Linked DNA regions of Homo sapiens: all the other regions are linked to region 1. Evidence: promoter capture Hi-C in human tissues and cell types (Jung and others, 2019). All regions are on one chromosome and are shown on one strand. The core of a region is centred on a gene start or on the middle of the fragment in contact, and the rest is flanking DNA. Distances in the headings are between cores, read along the strand shown.

What was found. The method cuts DNA at HindIII sites, captures the fragments that hold promoters and counts their contacts. A contact is called where the count stands out against the background at its distance.
Region 2: a contact is called between a fragment that was not itself captured here and the fragment with the promoter of TLN2 in region 1, in 3 of the 25 tissues and cell types used here (aorta, bladder and dorsolateral prefrontal cortex).
Region 3: a fragment that was not itself captured here is called in contact with the fragment with the promoter of TLN2 in region 1 in 2 of the 25 tissues and cell types used here (aorta and stomach).

Annotation. Positions count from the first base shown.
Region 1 is chr15:62,388,735-62,392,535 of GRCh38, forward strand. TLN2 (talin 2) reads left to right here and starts at 1,816. Exons shown (of 59, transcript NM_015059.3): 1 at 1,816-1,951. RefSeq lists enhancers at 1,236-1,305, 2,224-2,838 and silencers at 1,472-1,668, 1,716-2,045. The HindIII fragment of the contact is 23,885 bases long and covers 1-3,801 here.
Region 2 is chr15:62,474,038-62,477,801 of GRCh38, forward strand. All of the region lies in intron 1 of TLN2 (talin 2), which reads left to right. Among named protein-coding and RNA genes, the nearest start is that of TLN2, 85 kb to the left of the region's middle. The HindIII fragment of the contact is 4,440 bases long and covers 1-3,764 here.
Region 3 is chr15:62,497,112-62,501,368 of GRCh38, forward strand. The region is part of intron 1 of TLN2 (talin 2); the gene reads left to right. Among named protein-coding and RNA genes, the nearest start is that of TLN2, 110 kb to the left of the region's middle. The HindIII fragment of the contact is 4,314 bases long and covers 403-4,257 here.

The DNA of each region.
Region 1 (3,801 bases), core at 566-3,065:
CTTGATGAGCCTCTTATGTAAACCTGGCATTTGGACCATAAAAATATGGTTATTCTTTGTTAGTAAACCAAGGAACAATTTAGGTGGCATTAATTTAGTGAGCTTATTACCAGGCTCATACAGAAATCAATAAACATGTACTTTTTAATCAACCCCTGAGGTGGCTTGTTGCCACCACTAGTTATTCTGTGAGACTGGTGAATGTTTAAAAAGGCGTGGTGAACAAAAATACTTTACCTGTACAATGAGAAATTGTGCCCTGCAATTTTTAGGACTTTCTCAAGTTGCCAAGTAATTGGTTCTCTCACTGTGCATTGATAATGTATACTTTGTTAGCTTTACAGTTTATATTCTGCAATAAGTTACAAAGTTGTACCCTAAGGTTATCTTTGCTGCTATGATACATACAGTCCGGTTCATCAGCCTGGTTAAGGACAGGGTATTGTTCTCACAGAATGTCCAGCCTTATCCAATGTTCCAACGGACTTATTCAAAATAATTTCAATTTACAAAATCAATTCAGTCTCCGGTTTATGGTGACAGCAGTTTCTTTCTCTGAGAAACACTAAAAAGTTGCCAGCAGTTCCATTTGAGTAACTGAATAGATTTGCTACCTATTTCCTGGTCCATTCTGTATTGGGATGGAAATAATGTCGTCTTTCCTTTTTTTTTTCTTTTTTGAGACAGAGTCCCGCTCTGTCATCCAGGCTGGAGTGCAGTGGTAGGATCACCGCTCATGCAGCCCCCGAGCTCCCGGGCTCAAGCGATCCTCCCACCATTCTCCCCAGTAACTGGGACTACAGGCATGCGCCCCCACACCCGGCTGATTTTTAATTTTTTTTGTAGAGATAAGGTCTCGCTATATTGCCCAGGCCGATCTTAAACTCCTTGGGCTTGAGATCTTCCTGCTTTGGCCTCCCAAAGTACTAGGAGTAAAGGGGTCATGGCTAATTCTTGTTTTTTTAAATTACTAATGTGTCCCTTACAGATAAATAAAAAAGTAAAATTACTCACAATTCCACCAATCACTGAGAGACTTATTGGTGTTTATCTATCCAGTCTTTTCTGCCTTTCTCCATAAATCACAGTTTTTAAAAACGGGACCATACGGTACATAGTGTTTTGTCTCCTCACCCCCTTGAATAACCTTCACATTGTTCCATGGTATTTACAGTATTTACTAATAATGACTGTAAATGTAAGAGGTATATAACTGACTTTATTCAGGGCATGGCAAGCAGGAGTGAATTATTTTCTTCTTATCAACACAGCACGCCCCTACCGCCACTCATCCCTATAGTCGTTCTCTAAATACCTAAGTGACACCTGACCAGCAAGGTTTCAGGGTCCTTGTGCTGAAAGGAGCAGGCTCGCCTGGGGTCACGGCCCTCCGCTTCGCAGCAAGACCCCACCGCCCACCACGGCCCTCCAGTTAGCCACAGCTCGCTTCCCCCAGGACCGGGCCAGAGGTCCCGAGAGGGCACTCTGCGGACCTAGGGGCCCCAGCCTACAAGACGCTGTGTCCTGCAGTCATCCCCTTTACACAGCAGAGCCCCAATTCTGGGAAGCCGGGGTCACCCCGAGCCTCCCTTCCCCGTGACAGCTCGGCCGGTGCATCACCTTCCCTCGCGGACCCTTTCAGCATCACCACGCGTGGGAGGAAACCCAGGACGGGCGCCTGAGCCTCGGTGGCGGCCCACCCCGGTGCCGCGCGGCGCCGCGGCCGGACCGGCGCCGCGCCGTCCCCGAATGATGACGCGCTTCCTGCCCTCCCAGCGCTCTCGGGCAGTGCGCTCGCGCTCGCCCTCGGCTCTTGTTCCGCGCCCGGAGCCAGCGGCGGCGGCAGCGGCTGAGGCGGCTGCGGGAGCGGAGTGGTCGCCCAGCGCGCGGGGGGACGCGGGCTGCACTCCCGGGCAGGCGCTCTGCAATGAGACAGTAAATGCATCCCCCGGTAAGGCGCACGGCTCACTCGGGTTTTCCTCTTCCTCCAGCTGCATGCACGTTGCATGAATTTCTCGTGTCTTTTCCCTCCCCTCTCCAGAAGGAAAATGTGGGGTTTTTTTTCCTCCCTTTTGCTTCTCGTGAGTGATGCCAATGCAGGAAAAACCCGTAAAGCTCCCAGATTTGATGGTCTAGGAGGGCTTCTTGCAGGAAAATAAAAATAAAATGAAATTAATGCACCTGTCTATTGCACATGTATGTTTCACTGCACCGGACCCGGGCGCAGCGGTTTGCAAACAGCCTCGCAGTCGGCGCCAGAGAGCGGATTCCTGGCCGTGGGCAGCCGGTCCCCTCCGGGGCTCTCGCTGGGTTTCCGGTAACTGGGCTTTGAAAAGCGGCCCCGCCTGCATAGAGTGTCCCCTCGACCCCAGCCGGGCCCCCGCGCCAGAAGAGTTGGCGCTGGAGGAGCAGCTTCATTCCAGCACTGGCCGCCGGGACTCCAGCGCCACTTTGCAAACAAGTCTCCCGCCGAGGCTCTGGGCTAAGACAGCCCGCCAGTGCGGAGTTCCTTCTCCGGTGCCGGACACTCAGACCTGCCGATCCCACGACTGCCCTTTACTTGGCAATCTCGCCACGGGCGAACTGCTGGCCGCTGAGCGACGGGGGCAGTGCCGGGCCGAGAGCGGGGCCAGGCTTTGCATCCAGTGCGGCTGGCCTCACACAGACTCAGCGGCTCCCTCTCCTTCCTCGGTCCCACGAGCTGAAATTTTGCGCCCATTGGAAGCTGGAGGGACCTGGAGACGAGTATTTCGGGATCCCTGAGGGGACCGAGGAACGACTTTCGAGGGCGCCATATTTTCAGTGGGTCTTGACTGCGGAGGGGAGGGGGCGAGCAGTTTCTGGGTCCCGGGGAGAGCCCCGCGCCCCAGTCGGAGAGGCCTGATCGGTTGTCGCCGGGAAAGTTTGCGCGCCGAGGCAGGCGCGGAGGCGGCCGCACAAGGCGCGCACGACTGCTGTCCCCGCAAGGGCGCGCGGACTACAGCGCGTCGCCACGCCAGCCGGCGGGGCTTGGGAACGAGAGCCGCCGTCACGGACAGCGTGCTGGGCTTGCCGCCTTCCTCTGTCCCGCCTGGACCCGGCCTTGGGGCTCCGAGGCTCAGGGAACACGCCCCTCTTCCCCGCAGCTACCGCTGCCCGGGTGCTCAGCCGGAGCCGTGCGCTGGGCGGCGTCCCGGGGCTGGGCGCCGAGTGTAGAGCGTTCTCCCGGTGCCCGGGCTCGCCTGGGTGCTCCGAGGGGCGCAGTAGCTCACTTCCTGGGGGAGAGGAGGCGCCTTGGTTCGTGGATCAGGACCAGGGCCTGGCCTGTGGTCGCCCCGAGGCCGCCGAACAGCCTGAGCTTCCAGTCGCCTCTTTGGCTTTAGCGGCGACAGCAGTAGCGCCCGCGGCTGCGTGTTCTGCTCTCGCAGCTCGTAGAGGCGAGGAAAGGAGGGCGTTTCCAGAAGTTGGGGCTTCAGGTGACGCGTGGGGAAACTTGGATTCTTGCTGTCCTTGAAGAGCTGGGACAACTTAGGCCAGAATTCCTGTGTCTCATAGTGAAAACTTCTGGTTCTTTCCAGAAGATGAGAGAGGAATGAACTGAAGTGTTGGCGTTGTCAAAGACATAATTAAAGACGGTTGGGTAGGGATGATGTCTTGGAGAAGTGGTCCCCAAAATACACGTAAATTGCCCTGGTGCTGTAAGTACCACTTACTTTTCCATTAATAATACCTGGGTGTGTTAAGCTGTGGCATTGTAAGGTTGCACGCTGACCTCCCTTCTCCAGAGCTTGGAGGCAGCGACCTCTCTGGAGTGAGGGGGAA
Region 2 (3,764 bases), core at 723-3,222, 85 kb after region 1:
GAGCCCAGACATGTGCCTTTGAGCTCCAACCTGGGTAACGAGCGAAAGTCTGTACTAAAAACAAAACAAAACAGAACAAACAAAGGAATTGTACAGCATTCAGAGAGACTTATAAAAGAGGATTCCTTTTAACATGTTAATTTAGCAGGGGTCCTAAACCTGAGGTTCAGAAAAGAAATTTCAGAGGGCTCATGAATCCTTGAAACTGAAGGCATAATTGTCTCTATGTTCTCCTTTTTGAGTGAAAGCATCTATCATTCTCAGAGGAATTTGTCATCCCTTCTCCACCCCTTTTTCACTCAGTAAGAATAAGGGATAATATGGGCCAGTCTTGGTGGCACATGCCTATAATCCCAGTGCTTTGGGAGGCTGAGGTGAGAGGATTGCTTGAGCCTGGGGGTTTGAGACCAACATAGTCAGACCCTGTCTCTACAAAAAATAAAATAATAAAATAATTAGCCAGGTGTGGCAGTGCATGCCTGTAGTCCTAGCTACTCGGGAGGCTGAGATGGGAGGATCACTTGAGCCAGGAGTTTGAGGCCGCAGTGAGCTATGATTGCACCATTGTCCTCCAGCCAGGACGGGAGAGTGAGACCCTGTCTCAAAAAAGAATAAGGAATAATGTGGAGGTTATGGTAGTGTTTTGTTTTTTAAATGGACCCTGAGGCTGTTGACGATTCCTTGAAATATGTTTGGTTTGCTTGTGTCTGAGTCGTCATTGGCTTCTCACGTTTGAGAGTGAAAGGAAAATGAGCTGTAGGTTAGACTCCGGGCTGTCCCAGGTGGAATCCTTGACGATGCTGTGGGTGGCCTTGCAGCCTTTGACTGTTCTCTGAAATCTGCATCTCACTCTCTTGACCCAGAGTAACTAGAATGCTAATGGAAAAAAAAAAAGTGGGACTGGTTGCTGCAGTTTCAAAACAAATGACCTCACTGCCTGAGTTCTACGCTATGCAAAAGAAACCCTAATTTTTGCCTTATAAATAATAATGGACCTTTGGGGAAATAGAGCCAAATACCCATTTAGTGAGGGTGGGGTATTTGGCTCTGTCTCCCTGAAGAATCGTTTAACGATTTGTCATTGCTGAAGCTTACTCCCTAGAAACAGAATGCAACCACTGTGACACCAACTTAGTAATTATTTCCTAAGAGATATGGTAATTTAAATTTATAATGACTTTCATTTCTTCAAGTTAAGAAAATAAACTTTGTATAAGCCGACTTAATGGGGACATTAATTTTCAGTTCTGTTCCAAAAGTGTAACAGAATTTTGGAATTTTCTAGCTGAAGGACACCTGAGTTTTATCACGCTCCTCGTTTTATAGATGAGTTGACTGAAGATCTGCAAAGTTAGGTGTGATCTGCTCGAGGTTGCATTGATGTGTCAGGGCTAACCGAAGCTAGAATGCAGGGGAAAGAGGCAACTATTTGGATGATTATATTTGAATTAATAACCCACCAACCTTTAAAATGCATGATTTTTTGTGGTCTCCAAGCATTTCCTGGGATGGTTCTGGTCTTGGGTGGGTAAACCTGATGTATGGAACAAGAGCTTTTCTTCTTGTTCTTATTCTTTATATCTCATAAATTCAGATTTTTGAAAAAAGTTTTTCAGTTTCCCTCTACAATTTTTAGATTTTCTTCCCCTGCTCAAATGTGAACAGTTCTTTCTTGAACTTTGTTTTTGACGAAAACCAGGAGTTTCAGTTTGGCTGGTGCAAGTCATTTGGGATTAAGGAGAGAGAACTGGGGGCATGGTTAAGATCTGGAACTGCAGGCTGCTTTGTCTCTTCAGTTAGGAGTCAGACAGAGTAAGAATAACATTTGTTTAGAAACAGAGTTTTATTAGAGTGGTAATTTACAGGTAAAATGTAAGCTTTATAGACTTGATTCTGCAATTCTATTCCTGGCCTTGCTGTTCCTCGCTGCTGATTTAGGGCAAGGCCTATCTTCTGAGTCTTGGCTTTTCTCATCTGTGAAAAGAGGGGCTTAGGCCTGAGTATTTCCAAGGACCCTTGGCAGCCATATGACTGGACTCCACGGTGGGATATTTGCAGAGAGGCTTCTCTGGAGCTGCTGCTTGTGGGCTGGCACCAAAACTGGAGGCAGAGGGTGCCAGCTGTGTTGCTGCACAGAGCCTCAGGAGCATGAACCCTGTGTGGCATTTTTCCCTCCTCCTGCTTTGTCACCTGAACCCCAGCAGTGTTGTTCAGTGCCGGGAGGATGTCGCTCACCCGCTGACACGGCTACCTGCACTGACACATGTCATTTGTGTCTTCTCTGCCAGTGCGCTGCTGCAGGGTGACATCTGGACTGGCCTCCTTGTCCCTCGGATGCTCGGCTGCCCAGAAGTTTCTGGATCAACTTGTTGAAGACCATGAGTAATCTTCATTTCTACTTCGCAAGCAGCTCTAGACCTGTGGCATCTCCAGCCAGGTCTGGCTGATGGACTCCTGCCCTCTGTGGCCAGCCTCTCTCACACCCAACTCCAAGAGCCTGGAAGATGGCAGCAGGGACTCCGTACAGGGCCCTTCTGTTGCCCCCAGCAGTCATAATGGTTTTGGGGCCTTCTGAATCTACCTTCTTGGAGCTACTTTGTTCCATCACCAGAGCCAAACCTACGAGTCCTGATTCTCTTCTTTGGCAGTTAGGGGAGTTTTGACCACTTTCCTCTCTTTCACTTTGCTCCAGCCACAATGGCCTGCCTTTACTGGCCTTCGAGAAAGCACCCGCTTTATGGTGGCAGATGCAGATGCCATTTCCTCTGTCCAACATCCTCTTGCCTGGCATGTACCTTCTCATCCATCATGTCTCATCCTAATGCCACCCCCTTTAGAGATGCTTATCTGACTACCTTGTTTCAATGTCTTCCTCCATCCCCAGGTATGCATCCTCTTTCTGTCTCTGATCCTTCCGTGTGTCTGTCTTTGCACTTAAAACAGGTTAGATCTCTTTAGTCGTTAGTAGACTGCCTATTCATCCATTCATTCAACAAATATTTCTTGAGTATTTACTATGTACCAGCAGCTGAGATAGGCACAGTCTATGCTGTCTAGAAACTTCCAATCCATGAAGAAAGACGAGATCAAGTAAAAGCCTAAGTAAACTGTCATGCTATTTGGGCAGAGTGCTTTGTTCTAATTACTCTAAAGCATCCTGGGCATCTTGTTAAAACACAGATCCTAACTCAGTAGGTCTGGGTGGGCCTGAGAGTCTGCATTTCTAACAAGATACAGGTGATGCTGCTGCCTTCTAGACCACACTTGGAGAAGTAAGGCTGTAAGCTTTTTGATGAAAATAAGACTTGTCCTGGAGTGTGACTCTTGCTGAACTGCCTGGGTGGATGTGGGTAAAGTTACTGGAGACCCTCAGGGTTTTGTCTGGCCTTGGAGTCTCTTCTAGCTGCAGGAGACTGAGTGGTCTGAGATGTGAGCCTGATTGAACAGTAGGGGAACCTGTTACCATCACCTGCATCTATGTGCTTGTCCTCCTTAAGGTTATCATAGGTTGTAGGTTTGTCCATTGAACCCTCCCTTAAATGTTGTGCTTTTCACATTCACTTGGTGGAATCCTATGGGCTCTCTCTGTAGGGTGTGTTCTGTATAAGTCAGCATTTCTGAAAATACTGCGGATGTTTGGTTTTTAAGAGCAGACTGTATCTGCTGGGCCCATGGGGCACTTGCAGTGAGATGTTGAGAATGGAGACCATACTGGAAGCTGGGGACTGGGGCAGAAACCTTCGAGCAGGTAGACTGAGGGCAGG
Region 3 (4,257 bases), core at 1,310-3,809, 110 kb after region 1:
TGAGGCCCTTTTTATTCATAGCTGCATCCCCTGTGTCTAAGAGGGCATACTTAATACATAGCAGAGATTCAATAAATGTTCGCTGAGGGAGTGGATGAATGAGTGGGGCTGATGATTGAGAACTCCCAGTATATCCTACATATGGACTTGTGTTTTCTCCATTCCTTCCTCCCCAAAATATCTGGGGCAGCATGTGAGAGTCTCTTCATTTTCTATTGGAAATTGGAGTACTTGAATCCAGAAGTTTAAATCTATGAAGGTGAAATGCGGTTAGGCTAAGTGGATGGACCCTTAGTTAGATCCTCTCTGGGTGATTTGTTTCCCCAGTGGTACTTTCCTCTGCTCCTTCTGGAACTCCAGCAGTTGCTCCTTGCCCTCCAATGGCTGCAGGATGCCTGCTTCCTCTGTGTGGGAAGAATCCTATTTCCTAATCCAGCAGGCATTTTTGTTGGTAATTCTGAAAATCGTTTCTCAGGGCTCTTTCCTAAAGTTGTGGCCACCCAGCAGTGAGTTAGCCACAAATGGCTCAGTGATAGCAAAGGCCTAGTTGCAATATGATTTTTTCTCCCTGAGGATGGTTTTATGCTGAGAGATTCTACATTTGGTTTTAGTAGAACTTTAAGCAATTCATATTTGAGAAGATACATTTATAGCTCTAAATTTTTTTAAGAAGAATGATTTCCAGTGCTTGTCTGGTTCCTTTTTTCCATGGTGGGGTTTTGGCTGCTTTTATGTTATATAGCATTCTGGCTTCCCCGTGCTGCTGACCAAGCGTGGACAGTTTTTGGTTTGCTGTTTTAAAGCCAAGGAAAGGCCCATGCTTCCTGTCTTGAGAAATTTAAAGTATGGAATTTGGCCAGGTGTGGTGGCTCACACCTGTAATCTCAGCACTTTGGGAGGCCAGGGTGGGCAGATCGCTTGAGCTCAGGAGTTCGAGAGCAGCCTGGGTAACATGTTGAAACTTTTGGTACGAAAAGTACAAAAATTAGCCGTGATCATGCCACTGCACTCCAGCCTGGGTGACAGCGTGAGACCCTGCCTCAAAAAAAAAAAAAAAAAAAAAGAAAAAAAAGTCTGGAATTTTATACCTGTTAAAAATATAAATAAGAATTAGATTTTTAAATTCTGAAGTAAATAACCTGGTTCTTCTTACTTAACCTGAATTTGCTAAGTATCTCTTCATGATTCTGAATGGTTAGATCCTGCCAAGGCTGACCCTAAACATTTGTATAGTTTTAGTATTCGATCCTTGAGTAGTCACTGGTCAGTTCCCCAAGGGTTGACTTGCCTGTTGTTGTTTTACTGGCTACTTGGAATCTGCCTGGAAGGCCTCCTGAGGAGTTTGTTGGAATTATGCATATACAGTAATCAGAGTTCTGAGTGTAGGCAAAAGTATCTGGATTTCCTAGAAAGTGAGGGGCTGCTGGACAGTCTCTTCATTTGCCAAGGGATATTTTAAAATAACATGCTTCTGTATCGGTGGCTGTGTTCTAGAGAGCTGGGGTCACCGTAAGTCTGATGATATCCCAGTGTCTGTCACAGGAAAGTGAGGTACATCCACGTATCTACTGACCCCCAGTATCTGGTGGGATATCTTTCCCACAAAATTTGCTTCTTAGGAGGGTTTTTTTTTTCCTTATAGTTCTTTTCATATATAAATACTAATCAGTCACCAATTCATTACATTTTAGGAACAGGAGAGTCTGTGAATGACATGAAAAATTATTAAAAGGAATTTGGCGAAACTATTAAAGGAATTTACCCACTCTAAAGAGAGCTGTACAGGGGTTATTGTTCTTGTTAAACAGAGTAGAGGTCAGTTAGTGGAATGTGGAGAGTTTAAAGTCATTGCTGACTTAATGACTAGTGAAAGACCAAGAAGATATGGTCTTTGCCACTGTACTTCTTAATGACAGAATCAAAGACTTACTGTGTGGACTTTATGGAAGTCTCTAGGAGTAAACTTGATGACAGAATTTTTTTTTTCTAGGCCATGTTTATATTTTCAATCTGTTCTTTCTGCTACCTGGGACATTATTTTTATTTATTACAAAACATTGACTAGAGGGGCTCACGCCTATAATCCCAGCACTTTGGGAGGCTGAGGTGGGAACATCACTTGAGCTCAGGAGTCCAAGATCAGCCTGGGCAACATGGCAAAACCCCGTGTCTACCAAAAAATACGAAAATTAGCCAGGCGTGGTGGTGCTCACCTGTAGTCCCAGCTACTCGGGAGACTGAGGTGGGAGGATCGCTAGAGCCCAGGAGGCAGAGGTTGAGGTGAGCTGAGATTGCACTACTGCACTTCAGCCTGGGTTACACAGTGTCTCCAAAAAAATAAAATAAATAGAGAAATGGCCTGGATATGGCTTGAAACCAAGCCTCTTTTAAGCAAACGTATTTTAAAACTGAGGGGAAAGGAGACAGGGCCAACATGCCAACTGATGAATGTAGTTTGCCCCACTTTACCAGTCCTTAAATTAGCAAGGTTTCTCTTCTTTGTTTTTGAGACGGAGTTTTGCTCTTGTTGCCCAGGCTGGAGTGCGATGGCATGATCTTGGCTCACCGCAACCTCCACCTCCTGGGTTCAAGCAATTCTCCTGCCTCAGCCTCCCGAGAGTAGCTGAGATTACAGGCATGTTCCACCATGCCCGGTTAATTTTGTATTTTTAGTAGAGACGGAGTTTCTCCATGTAGGTCAGGCTAGTCTCGAACTCCCGACCTCAGGTGATCTGCCCGCCTGGACTTCCCAAAGTGGTGGGATTACAGGCATAAGCCACCGCTCCTGGCTGCAAAGTTTCAAAGTTTCTTTAAAAACAAGCAAAGAAACAAACAAACAAACAAAAAAAACAGTCAAAATTACAATTCAGGTGAGGGAGGAGGAGTGAAGGTCCAAAACAGATGGTGGGCGTTGGTGGTTTTCTCTTGTTTAAAATGAATGTAGGCCAGGCGCAGTGGCTCAAACCTGTAATCTCAGCACTGTGGGAGGCCAAGGCGGGCAGATCACCTGAGGTCAGGAGTTCACGACCAGCCTCGCCAACACAGTGAAACCCGGTCTTTACTAAAAAATACAAAAATTAGACAGGTGTGGTGGCGCATGCCTGTAGTCCCAGCTACTCAGGAGGCTGAGGCAGGAGAATTGCTTGAACCCAGGAGATGGAGGTTGCAGTGAGCTGGGATTGCACCATTGCTCTCCAGCCTGGGTGACAAGAATGAGACTCCATCTCAAAAAATAAATAAATAAATAAAATGAATGCAGCAGGGCTTTCTGGCCCAAATTGCTCTACAGAACTTTGATTGCTAGGGAACAAATATTCATTGTCTCCAGTGTGCTCAGTACATAGGCATTGTGACTGGCCTCCATACTGCAAAACAAGAAGACACCTTTGCAGTGGATTAGAATGTTTAAACTAAGTTCCAGATGGGTCAGGCAGAGTCTAACTGGCCTTTGGACCCTTGGTGTCTAGACAAAGCCAGGCTTATAGTAGGCAAATGTAAATGGAGGCAAGGGAAGAAAGATTTCATTAAGCAGAATTATCTGAGAAATGGCTGAGAAAAGACCCGAATATCTGCTATGGCAATCTCAAGTGACATCAATGCCCACTTGGAGTTGGGCACAATGTGAAATTCCTTCTTGAGGGAGCGCTGTTGGGAAAGGAATTTTTGCCTCAATTGGGCAACTTTTTCCTGCTATTTAATATGCATACTCTTCTTGAGCAGTTAAAGACGCAGAAGAAAGATAGTATTGTTTCAAGACAATTCTCCCAGGCTGCTCTTGGCCATCTTTTCTGAGTGTGCAGGCCCCACCACAGTCCCTGCAGCAACACAGTTTTGTTTGCTTAAAATTTGGTAACCTAAGGGGGCTTGAAGTCCCGCCAGGGCACTTCTGGTCCTCACAAATAGTGCCACTGAAAAACGCATCTTGTGCAAGTTTCAGAGCTTAGAAATATTCTGCTTAAATGTGCAATGCGCCATGGGGCATGTTATAGACCATCTCATTGAGCAAAAGATAAATGACCTTTCTCAGAAGGCTGAAGGAGCTTGGGACAGGTAAGCCTCCCTCTGTTCATTGTTTAAAAAAAGGAGGAACTTTTATCTCTACTTCTTGCTTCTACTTGGCCAAAAGAAGTGGATTGGGTCATCTTTTGGCATCAGGGCTATGCAAGTCCCTTTTGTTCCTATTTCTCCTGAGCAGGCCACATGTGTCTCTCTTTGCCTGAATTTCTCAAGCCTCCAGCTGAGGCCAAGGGCAGGGCT